2 separate regions of the Homo sapiens genome follow, and region 1 is linked to region 2. The links are contacts of gene promoters, found by promoter capture Hi-C in blood cells and fetal thymus (Javierre and others, 2016). All regions are on one chromosome and are shown on one strand. Each heading gives the region's core, a stretch centred on a gene start or on the middle of the fragment in contact. The rest is flanking DNA. Distances are from core to core; before and after follow the strand shown. Region 1 has its middle 490 kb from the start of LINC02713. Region 2 holds the start of CNTN5 (contactin 5).

Region 1 (6,424 bases), core at 2,341-4,840, 570 kb before region 2:
CACTATTCACAATAGCAAAGACTTGGAACCAACCCAAGTGTCCAACAATCATAGACTGGATTAAGAAAATGTGGCACATATACACCATTGAATACTATGCAGCCATAAAAAAGGATGAGTTCATGTCCTTTGTAGGGACATGGATGAAGCTGGAAACCATCATTCTCAGCAAACTATCGCAAGGACAAAAAACCAAACACTGCATGTTCTCACTCATAGGTGGGAATTGAACAATGAGAACACATGGACACAGGAAGGGGAACATCACACACCGGGGCCTGTTGTGGGGTGGGGGGAGGGGGGAGGGATAGCGTTAGAAGATATACCTAATGTTAAATGATGAGTTAATGGGTGCAGCACACCAACATTGCACATGTATACATATGTAACAAACCTGCACGTTGTGCGCATGTACCCTAAAACTTAAAGTATAATAATAAAAAATAAAAAAATTTAAAAATTAAAAAAAGTAATCAAGCTGAGCCATCTCCTCTTTTGATGAACTACGGAGGAAAATGTTCAATAGTCGATGTAAATATTACTTAAATATCTCATGGTAAAAAAAAGTCCTTCTGATAAGTAAGTAGCTGAATTAGATGAAACCACCAAGGATTATTTGAGTTTCAAACTGGTTAGAATTGCATTCCGTTGAAGTTGTTCTCACTTAATTATATTACAGATCCAGCAACTGAGCAATGTTTGATAATTACACGTCTTGAAGTAATCTTATTTGGGTTAAATCTGCTTGGATTTATATTAGTCAACACTTCCCCTTTGTTTTTAATTTTTTACAAACAGCCTGAAGTGTCTGAAGTGCTCAATGCAGACTCAAAAACCAATAATTCTTTATTGCATTTGTGGAGCAAGTGTCATGTTAACACTCCAGCATTCTCACTATAGAGGAAAATGCCTGTTAAAGTACTCACTTATTTACATGTGCTAAATATTTCTCATTGTTGGTTCTTGAACAAAGTTTACTATTATTTTCCACAGTTATTACTACAAAATTTTCTAAACAAAGTTAGTTATATCTACTTCCATACATCCTGGTAAGGAAATGATGGTTGGTGATAAATAGCCTGGAAAAAAATAAAGCTTGAGAACAACCTAAAAAAGACTAAAAAAGAGTATTTCATTTGGTTTCTAAAAAAAATATGAATGAACAGGATACATTACTAGTATATGGCTTTTCAGCATAATAGTGAAGCATGTCTTAAAAGTGACATGAGACTGAAACAAAAGGCTGTTTGAATTTATGAACATATAAACCAGTAAACTCCTAGACAAGAGAGTATAACTCTTGATGGTGGCAAACTTTACCTTCTATACATAGTAAAAAAAACCTTATTTGTTGGAAAAACTACTTCTGATAAAGAACTTGGAGGATTCTAGCATGACAATGTGAGGACCTCTGCTGACTCACTCTACAATCGAACTGGTGAAAATACACACACATACGCACGCACACACACACGTCTCTAGAAATGGTCATTAAAAGAAATAACAAATGAAGAAACACTGATTCATGAAAATTTTTGAAAACGTGGTGTAAAAGAGATAGATTGGTATTTGAACCAAGACTACTGTCCCTACCCGGCACATCCTGTGTTATGTTTCCTTAGGGCTTAGTTGGGAACCCAGCTCTCTTTATAAGTAAAATTAAATCATGCTATTATGGCTTGGTTATACAATCCAAGTAAGACTAACATTTTAACAAGGATTTTAAAAACAAAAAGCAAGGTATTATGTTGGAACTAGGAATATTCCTATAACTTTAACAGAATAAAACTTTTAAAGAACCTGGGCATTGAGGATTCCTGCAAATGCACTGCATAAAGTACATTTAACAATTTAAAATAATTTAATTTTAGGTTGAAATCTGAATAAGCCCAAATATATGAATCTTTCTATTTTGTCTAAGCTGTACTATACTGAACCAGGGGAATAAAAGCAAGAAAAAAAATCTGATTTCAGTAAATTTTCAAATTTCCTTTAAAGCAGTATTAACTCTAAAGGACCTAGGAAAGACATTTGTATTATGGTTAACTTTAGATATATGGATGGTTGATAGCTTGATAGACCTTACCAACTCCGAATCAAGAGAGTTTTATTTTCATTTCTTATAGCTGACATCCTAAGGAACATTATCTTTTGAGGGCACAATCTTTCACTTGCATCCTCTATGGTAATGCACCTAAATCTGGATCCAAGGTAAGACCTAGTATATTACTGGTGTTCAATTATCTGTTTCAGTGAATTGTTAGCTCTAGTAGCTATCATAAAACAATTTTCTTGTACTTTTTTTATGCCTAATAATTGACTCAATTATTTTAAATAGTCATGTAAAGAAATAAGCAACCCACTACATTTGTCTGTGCTTGTTTGCTCCAGTAATCATCAACAGAGAAAATAAAAATTAAAATAATTTGTAGAACTTGCTTTTCTCTTGGTAGAAAAATATTCAATATGTAACTGATAATTGAAATGAGAGACATTTGTTTACTCCTAATATACTTTGGTATATTACAGCTGAAATGAACCCTGTAATCATTTACAAATATTTTAGTATTCATCAAAATGTGTTACATATACAGATAAAACTTTTGTCTCACTTGTAATAAATTCTCCTTGAATCCCAAAGTGCTGATATCCATGCTTTTGAGTTATTGTTAAGGAAATTGAGTAGGAATTTAATTTGCCTGATAAGTGATCACTTCTTGCTGAAACAGCATTGTATCACCAAGGATAAAATGAATCCTATTAAAACAAGGCAAGACCAAGCTGTAAAAAAAAAATTTGGGAGTTTTGAGATGAAAATACTCACTGTATTTTGCCAGTGTATTGGCATCCCTCATAAGTACATAATTTCTGCCAGTTAGTAATTTTGTATAAAACGGATGACAGAACAGTTCTCTTCATTGAAATGTAGGAAGTGTTTCATTGTTTGCATCTCTATGGTGTCAGATATTAGCTTTAGCTTATAACATATGCTCTCATTGCAGAGTTTATTAGATTCTCCTAGGTAGAATTACAAGAGCAAATATAACAGGCTTTGTTCTGATTTTCCCATATCCTTAAGGTCTATTATTTTGCAATATTTTGACATTTGAAAAAAAATTCCTCTGGCAAATACTTAAATTGAATTTCTTAAGAATTTTTTATTCAAAATGTTTCTTAATGCTGTGAATGAAAAGCTTGGCTCTATGTGTGTGTGCGTGTGAGTCTGTGCATGCATATATATGTGTGCTTGCATATGTATACTGAAGGGCATATGTGATATATGTACTGAATTAGCCAACATTTTCCAGAGAAACAGAACCTATATATAGACAGATGATAGATGATAGATAGATAAATAGATGACAGATAGATATAGCTATAGATGTGGATATAGATATAGATAGATATATAATCTGAAGACAGAGGAAAGCCAGTGGCGTGATTCAGTCAGTCTGAACATATGAGAACCAGGAGCAGCAATGTGCAAGGGTGGGCAAAAGAAGATGGATTTCTCAAGCACAAACAGGAAGCAAACTTGCCCTTTCTCCACCTTTTGTTCTATTCAGGCCCTCAAGGAATTGGAAGATGCATACTTCGAGTGACTTTCTTCACTCAATCCACTCAAGTGCTGATCTCATCCAGTAACATCCTCATTGACACACCCCAAAATAATGTTTTACCAGCTATCTGGGCATCCATTAGCCCAGTCAGGATGACACATACAATTAACCATGGCATGCATCCGTGCACATATGTTGGTGTAGATGAGTGGTTAGGAAACAAAAGTGTTGAAAAATTTATATTGTGGATATTCTCTTACATTTAGCACTATTTTATCTAAAATGTTTGGATAATCAATTGACTAAAAAAGATAAAACTGGGAAAAAATAAATGAGCATATAAGAGAAAACAATAATGAATCAATTATATGTGAGTTTTTCAGATGTCTCCCCTCATCTTTCATTTCCTTTTCAAATGAATAAATTAAAAGCTTCCAAAATAGCAGTCGAATAATTTTAGGTGTAAATAAACTTGGAAGATTTCTGCAGTTCCATACAATTGTTTTACTAATACGTTAAAGGATTCACAGTGAAATAATTAAGACTAAATAACAAGGATAAAATTTTACCTTAAAGAACATATTTTTGGCCCAAGTACGATGGGCCACAGCTCTTTACAAATTAGAATTTAAGAGTTAAAGTGCTAAATTTTGTTGGTGCAATTTATTAGGTACTAATGGAAATATCATGCTTATGTAAAAATAATGAATTAAGATTGTTATTTACAGGTACTTAAAAGTATATCTGTTTGATGATGTATTCTTAGACATATATAAATATTTATACAAATGCATGTATAACAAAAATTGTGATAAGTACAAGGATAAAAATATTGCTTAATTTGCACTGGGGATTTGGGGAGATTCCTCTGAGTGATAATATTTAAATTTTGATGAGAATCAAATGTAGGAATTAGCTAGGTGAACAGTAAGACAGAGTGTCTCAGGGAGAAACAATATTATGTACTCAGGCCTCAAAGCAGAAGGCAATATGTTGCTCTTGCCTTTTCCAGAATGTTGTAGAGTTGGAACAGTATGTAGGGTTTTTAAATTGTCCTCTTTTACTTAGTAATATGCATTTAAGTTTCTACCCTGTCTTTTCTTGTCATAACAGCGCATTTTTTTAGCACTGAATAATATTTTGTTGTCTGGATGTAGCACATTTTATTTATTCCTTCACCTATGGAAGGACATCTTGGTTGCAAGTTTTAGCAATTATGAAAAAGGAGCTATTAGTATCTGTGTATGGGTTTTATATGGACATATGAACTCAACTCCTTTGAGTAAATATCAAGGAACATGAATACTGGATAATATGGTTAGAGTATGTTTTGTTCTATATGAAACTGCCAAACTGTCTTTTTTTTTTTTTAGTTTTGCATTCCAACCAGCAATGACTGGGAGTTTCTGTTGCTCCACATGCTCGTCAGCAATTGTTATTGTCAGTATTCTGGAGTTTAGCCATTCCAGTGTCTCATCGTTTTACCTCTACTTTTTGTATACAGCTTTAATGCTCTCCCTAAGAAACACAATATAATACCTAATCTTTTCACAGTCTTCTAAATATTAATATTGTATCACTTGTCATAAAATGTAGAAAACTTCCATTTAAATCTTTCCTTATCATCTTTCATTTTATCACTGTCAGATGAATTGTATTTGCATACATCTAAACTCTACATGCCTGTGTTATAATTTTTGTTTTAAATAGTGATTTAAGTTTTTGCTTTTGCAATCATAACTATTTAATCTTGAATCTTTTCCACTTCTACTTAATATTTTCAATGTTTTTCTTGATATATTTCTCTGAAAAACTTTTCCCAGATATCTAATATTTCTGATATTTTTATGTTACCAACTCAAGTGTTGATTCATGTCCACAATCTTCCATTTTTGTGTACTTTTTAGAATCCTCATTTCCTTCCTTCCTTCCTTTCCTCCTCCTCCTGCCTCCTCCTCTCTCTCTCTCTGTCTTTCTTTCCAGAGTCTCTTGCTCTGTCACCCAGGCTGGAATACAGTGGCGCGATCTCTGCTCACTGCAGCCTCCACCTCCTGGCTTCCCAAAGTGTAACATTACAGGCGTGAGCCATCGAGCCCAGCCTTTCCTTTCCTTTCTTCCCTAGAGGTTTTAGTTGTAATCAGCAAAGGAGAATGGCTTTATTTTATTTACACTACCATTCCCGAACTCAATTTTTACCTCACAAAGTTTTGATATATTTTCAGTTTTATTTTGGTTCAACTATTTTCCCCAAGATTTCTTCTTTGACATGTGAGTTATTTAGGAATGTGTAACCTAATTAGCAAATTTGGGATCATATGAGAGTTTTATTTTGTTGGTATTTTCTAGTTTAATTCTATTGTACTCAGAGATACTACTCTGTGAAATTTCAATTATTTTACATTTTCAAGACATTTCATAAGCAGATTTATAGTCACTTTTGGTAATAGTTGTCCGTTCACTTGGAAAAATATATAATCTTGACTTGTTTAGTGGGACATTATATCATTTTATAGAAACACAGATACATATACTAAAAAGTCAATTAGTTCAAATTTGTTAATTTGTTTTCTAAATCTACTTCATTCTTAATGAATTACTTTCTCTTGTTCTATCATCTACTCAAAGAGGTAAGTTAAAAATATACAACCATGAATGTAGATGATTTCTCTTTCAAATGCTCAATCTGTTGAATTTAGCTATATATAACTGGATTTGTATGGCTAGGGTTACCTTGTGAAATAGGAAAAGTTCCCTTTTTCCCCTAGCAGAGTGTGTGATGGGGGTGTGACTTGCTTCTTCAGTGCCCTGCTGCTCAAACCTCTAGGGGAGCATACAGATGGGCAGGCTATAGGGCTCTGACCCCA
Region 2 (6,640 bases), core at 4,105-6,604:
TGGATTCTTTATATGTGAGGTATGTTAATCTGATATGATACAAACAACTTGTTTTGTGGTGTTCTAATTCTTTTATTCAAATTAAAATGGGGATTTGTTTAGTGAACAAGTTAAGAACACTATGGTGGAGGCACTTTACTTAGATTTGTGTTTCATTAGCTCATTAATACAGAATTAAACATTTCATCTCAAGCATGCTTACATGCCTAGTGTATACTTAGCCCTCAACAAATGTTAATAGCTCCTGTTTTGCCACTGAGTGTAAGGGTACCTTCGAAACATTCTGACATTTTGCAGTTTGCCAATGTATTTATTAGATACTTCATGTCATATAATCTATACAACTTGTCTTATAGCTTCAACTGCTAATTTGGGGTTCCTCTCAGTTCTCTAAAAAATCGGAACATCCTTAGGTCAGAACTTAAATGGCATTGCTAATTAGAGCATGAGTGCCATCTAGTGGTAGACATGGCTAACTACAGGCTTATTGGTGAACAAAAAAAAAATAGGTGGTGAAAATGTTCTGCTTCTTCATTATAATGCAGTCTCTTGGAGTTAGTCTCAGACAAACAAATGAGACATCCTATATATACGCTACTCAGCCAATAAAAATTTAAACACAAAGTATATCAGATTGAGGGGTGGAAGAATTTAGTTCCTGGTCCACAGGAGGCATACAGTCTAGTTCTACACCTAAAGATCTACACAAAATGTTTTAAGCTGGATTCTAAGTACATTTTGGAAATATTGTAGATGAGACCAGGAATGTCTAATATATAAAGGTGAGAATCATATTTGATAGCAATATTTTTGAAGGATGATTATTTTGATGGAGGGCCAAATATCAAAGACAGGTCAAGTTAATGTACCTGACAGACTTGGGAGACAGGGAAGAGATGGGAAATGATCAAGATGCAACACACATATGGCCATTCTTTAAAACCATAAAGAACAAATTAGACTAATTCTAAGAAACCATTAGACATTTTTATCCCATACTGAGAAGAATGGTATGTAAACAGTGACAATACAGAGGTATTTACCTGGTCATGAGCAAATGAATCTTTGGTTTTGTTTCTTTATGGAAACAACTTTATATCCAGAGGTCTTGGTGAGAGAATGCTACATAAAAGAAAAATTAGACATCTGTAAAGGTAAGTGAATTAAAACTGATAGAGATCCTGAGACTTAAAATATATCCAAGAAAAAAAAATAGAAATGCATATCTAAAGGAATCTACTGGATGAAAACTAAGTAAACTTTACCTTTAAATTAGTAAGATTTCAACTTTTACTTCTATTTTCTAAAATCTTAATTAACTGCAAATGTTTATGGTTTGCATAAATAGTTGGACCAAAATGTCACAAAGGGTGAGCATAAATTCCACCTACAGGAGATTAGATATTTGCAGCTTCTGTAAGTAAGAGTTGGTACTGTGACCACCAAAAGCTTGACCACCACAGTTGAATTAGAGCTCCTCTCTCATACTTCTTAATGGTTTTGGTTGCCGATGTTATCAAGACATCCACAAAGTAGACTATGTTCTTTAGCGTTGTTTACTGAAGCAGCTGTTAAATTAATTAAGTTGGTATATTTTCCAAGTCTGATTAAGATATGTTTACTTCTGCTTTCACAAAACAGCTGTGATATGAGTACTGAGACACATCTTCTAAGAAACTCAAAATATAATTAAAATCATATTTTGTCCAGTTCAAGTAAAAGTTTACTTTTGCTTCTTCATGTGTTACTTTGCACTTATAGGGAATACTGGCATATATTGAAAATGCAAGATTTTGATTCCTTTAATTTTTATCTTAGTACTTACCCATTCACCATTATTGGTAACACATTAACATAGAGGATTAAAACATCAAAACAGAAAATGCAAATGCTAAAAGAAGCTCCAGTAGGCAAGGCAGATGATCCAAGAAAGATGACTGATCTAGACATGAATTCACCATTGGTCTGCTTCCCTACAGTTATGCTATGATTTGATGGAACATAATAATAGTTATGATCTGTTAACTAGAACCTAGAACTTATCTGAGTCAAATGAAGGGAAAGAGAAAGGAGGGCATGATTTCAATAAAAATCTGTTACACAAATAAGACAAAAGCTCAGAGGCACCTCAACTGCTACAGATGTGCTGCATCTGCTTGCTTGCCCATTGGGGACGATGAGATAAAGAGATTAAGACATTTACACAAAGATGGCTAGACAACAAGATCAGATCAGCAACATGACAGCTAGGTTGAGGTGTCATAACCATAGCATAGAGAAAGTGACCTACTGAACCACTTACCCCACTTACAAACAATGTTTTAATTAACTTAATGTACAAATGATATTTTACCAGGGTACAGGATGAGCTGGTTAATTCAAAAATGTCATTAGCATCAAACAGAGAAAACCAGTGATCTTTTAATAATGCCATTTTATTAAGAAAACAGCATTGGAATTTAATAATGGGGCATACATACTTTTATATCTTTTAAAGACAAATCTTACATCAAAACAACTATAACTTAAAATCCCATTCTCACATGTCAATAGTAGAAAATCTTGGTCATGGTATGTGAAAAGATTTGATGTTTACTTGGAAAACACAAGGTAGTTTGTTTCTTTTTAGTGGAACTCTAACAAGGAGTTTTGTTTGTTTGTTTCTTATTTTAAGCACTGTTGTTTCTCTAATTCCAGACATTGACCTGCTTAAACCTGAACACTGTGGATATAAAAGGATACAGAAGTGTACCTGATCTATAGAGCCCTTACTCTCCAAGCAGAAAATTGTAAAAATATACAGTACATAAGTTAACTCCATAACAGCAAAATTCTAAAGAAAGATGAGTCAGATAGACTAACAGTTTGTCTGTTACATATATAGATATTAATAGGGAATATATAATTGTATATTATTACAAATTAGAACATTAAAAGTCATAAAAGACATGAGAATAAATATAGTCACTCTTTCTGGGTCCTGAATGAAGTGTAGCCAGGTAACCTAGTCACCCCCAAATAATGATTGAAGTCAACATTTTAAATTTGAACTGACAGAAATAGACCTTACTATTTTTAATTAAACAGATTCAACGTTTCCTTTCTCTCCCTCTAAAGCATCAGATAACTTCGCAAGGAAAAGTGCTATTACATTATCTACTTGTTTCAAAAATATATTCACACCATAGTCTTGTGATAATATTGCTCTCTTTATAAAAAGTAGAAACATTAAAAGCTTTTATTTAGTTCTTGCTTAAGAAAGGAGAAATATTTAGTCCATTTACATCATGTAAAAGGTAAATTTTCTTGTTCATGTTAATGGTAGGAGGGCACCATGAATCATGTGACCGATAGCATTTCCTTCTTTACATTGGCTGCTAACAAAGTTAATGGCAGACCTAGCACCATTTGTAACAAAAACATCAATGCAGTTTTCTCTATAAACCTCATTTCTGGCTTCATCTTATCTCTCCTCCTATCACTTTACCGTTTGTCTTGATCTCACTGACCTACATTTTTTATTCATTTTTTTAAACTGAATAGATTTTTATAAGCCAACTTACATCCTTTCTAGGGCAAAGCTAGTTGAAAGAAATTATGTGACATAATGACTCAAAATGCCCAAATTATCGGATCATGGGTAATATAGAATGGTGTTCTAAGAAGGGAAGAGAACTTTCAGAAAGCTTTCTACACTCCCGATCCCTCTTTCAGGCTGCATGTGCTCAATTATACACTTTTAAAGGCAAAAACCTCATCGAACAATAAAAAGAATGCGTTAGAGCTCCTACACTTTGAATTTATTTTGTGATGTATTTAATGTGGTTATAAAAGTCCTGGTAGTTCTCTCTGTGAACCGACAGCCTGACAGAGGAGAAGAGCCAGTGGGGCAGAGAAAAAGCCACAGAAGGGGAATCTCCACAACGATCCCTCAGTTAACACATAAAGAAGATAACCTAGTTACTGGAAAGCAGGAACACGAATATAAAAAGTATGGAAGAGTGGAGAAGTATTAAATGCACACAAATTTGTCTTTGCTACAGAACAAGCAATCAGCCTAGATCCTGAGGATAGCGATTAAAAGCAGAGACTGGGTGTTTGTACATCATTGGATGAATGAGAAGCAGCCAAGAAACAGGAAAAGACTAATTTTAATTACCAGAAAAACTGCAAGAGAAAGAACACAGGGCTAGTGGTAGACGGCTTCCAGCTACAGGCTGCCTGGCACTGTACTCTCCTTGCCAATTAGAGCCAGTCAGACCCCATCGGGGGATTCAGTGAGCAGAAGAATCAGCGTCAGTCCAGGGTCAGGCTGCTCTCAAACACACATGAAAAACGGACACCAGCGGACACGGGGTGCGACCCTAGACTCCCATGCAGTTTCTTATACAGACACAGAGATAGAAAGCAGTACGTGGGATTTCCTTTCCATTAAATACAGGTGCAAACCACATTCTCTATGGAAATATATTGCAAAGGAAATGTTATATAATTTATTTAACAAATACCCAATTACCATCAGCCCAATCGTGGGAATTGGAAAACGACTCAAAGACTGAGAGGAAAAAAAAAAAAAAAGTAGAGAGGAGGACTGGCAGAACAATGGCACTAAAGCTGCCACACTGTGGATTTACTACCTGTGTTATTTTTCCAATTACAGCCATTGTAATATAAAAATTCCGAAAAAAAGGTTGCTGAGACCATTCCTTCGCTTTTTTTTAGAACTGAGTCAACACCCCAAATCAAAGAGAAATATAAACAGGCAGAGCCTGATAGTCCTTAGATGAAACGCGTAAGTGCAGAAACAAAAGAGAAGTGCTTCCCATTCAGGACTTAAGAAAATTCTGCAAAGTGAAAAAGTCCACTCTCAAACCGACCTAAGTGAACGCGTCAGTCTGTGCTGCTGCTGTCAGAGGTGTGAGCCGGGGACTACAGGAATCAGAGTGAAGACAGGAGCGGAGGAAGGGACTCTCGCCTGGATCTCCCGTGCCGACTCCAGCCAGCACGTTTGCTTTGTAATCTATGAATGTTAAATACGGAGGGGTTGCAGAGCAGAAACGCTCGGGGAAGGGGGGCAGGTCCTCTGTACTTAGCAGGGAAGGAAAATGCCGGTTGACTAGTGAGACGAGTGGAGAAACACAGAGCACCCTCCGGGAGGCGCACAGTTCGTTAAGCCCAGGGACATGCTCAATGAACCTTTGCAGCAAGAGGCAGTGAGGCGCTGGACGCGGGCGCCGGTGACAGCGCGGGCGGCCGGGGAGGGGCGAGGGGCCGCCCCGGGAGGACACAGCCAGTCAGAGGCGCGGGGCGCAGGGCGCGCGGACGCATTGGAGGAAAACACGCGAGCCCCAAACACACCAGCCGCAGGAGGCGCCGCACCTACTTCCCAATATAACCAACTACGGCGTGGGGGAGCGGAACTGCGAGAAGGCGGCAGCCAAAGTGCCATTAAAGCTCGGGGCGGAGAGGATGCGTTACCTGGGTCCCGTCTGCTGCGAGAGGCAGGGCAAGCTGGAGGATTCCCTCTGAATGATTAAGAACTCCGCAATTCGCCTCTGCCACAGGCTGCAAAGGACCCGAGGAACCGCTCTCTCTGAACTGTGCTGATGGGCAGGAGGATGGGAGACAGGAATTGAGAGTCACAGAGGAAGGACAGTGGAGTCTGGCATCTTATTGGTAAGTGGCTGACATTCCTTTGCCAGTGACTGCGTTCTGTGATTGTGCACTTCATCTCCCAGCCACTTAGGATTTTTGACACACTCTGTTCTGCAAAGCCATCCTTTCTTGCCATGTTGCCAGAATGTAAAAACTGTAAGATGAAGCTTTTTTAAATAAAGGAAACAAAACACGACTTTATTTCCTGCTGGGATTTTATGGCAAAAAGTTGAAACAAGAGTAAATATAACCTATTTGTATATCTCCTAATGCCACCCAAAATAAGAGTAAGCAATTCCTACACGCAAATTGCAAATTGTAAGGCAATAAATGCCAGGATAAAGTGAGGATGTTTCTACAAAAGAAACTAAATGTTTGGAAAATAGGATGCCGTTCTCAGGTACTGAATGTATGCCTTATGTTTGAGCAATGAGTTTCCGAGACTAAATAATTGGGCATCTGGCATTGCAATAACTTGTTAAAATTCAGTAGGGATGCTCTATAAGTGGAGTTCTACAAAGTTCGTGAGACTGAGAAAAACTGTATCTTGGATTATGCTGAGCTTTTTTCTAAAGGTTGTATAGGATTGTGATAGATTAAAAAATTATGTTCAGACATCCTTACCATGTTTTGTAGGGAGATATACGGAAGAGAATATCAATTTGCACATACACAAACCTGAGAATTACTCTGATGACCTGAACAATAAGTTGTTTCAACTATATTTATTTGCGAAAGAACCAGAATCCACTAAATATTTTAGAATTATATTACTTTTAAATCTTAGAACTGTTCTCCCAAGAAAAATACAATTTCATGTGGTAATTTAAATGCAGGTGAGAAGCAAAAAACTTTTAAACTGTTGTATGTTCAATGCCTTACCTACATTTCATTCATTTGTTTCTTAATTTAAAAGAGAAAATCATTTAGAGGGTCAATACTTCTACTTTGATTCTCAATTACGACTGTGGAAATAAGGATGAAA

The links. The method cuts DNA at HindIII sites, captures the fragments that hold promoters and counts their contacts. A CHiCAGO score of 5 or more calls a contact.
Region 1: a fragment that was not itself captured here is called in contact with the fragment with the promoter of CNTN5 in region 2 in 1 of 17 cell types (megakaryocytes); the score reaches 5.6 in megakaryocytes.

What each region holds. Positions count from the first base shown.
Region 1 is chr11:98,446,789-98,453,212 of GRCh38, forward strand. No RefSeq gene overlaps it. Among named protein-coding and RNA genes, the nearest start is that of LINC02713, 490 kb to the left of the region's middle. RefSeq lists an enhancer at 6,289-6,424. The HindIII fragment of the contact is 797 bases long and covers 3,193-3,989 here.
Region 2 is chr11:99,015,595-99,022,234 of GRCh38, forward strand. CNTN5 (contactin 5) reads left to right here and starts at 5,355. Exons shown (of 25, transcript NM_014361.4): 1 at 5,355-5,676. The HindIII fragment of the contact is 2,136 bases long and covers 3,685-5,820 here.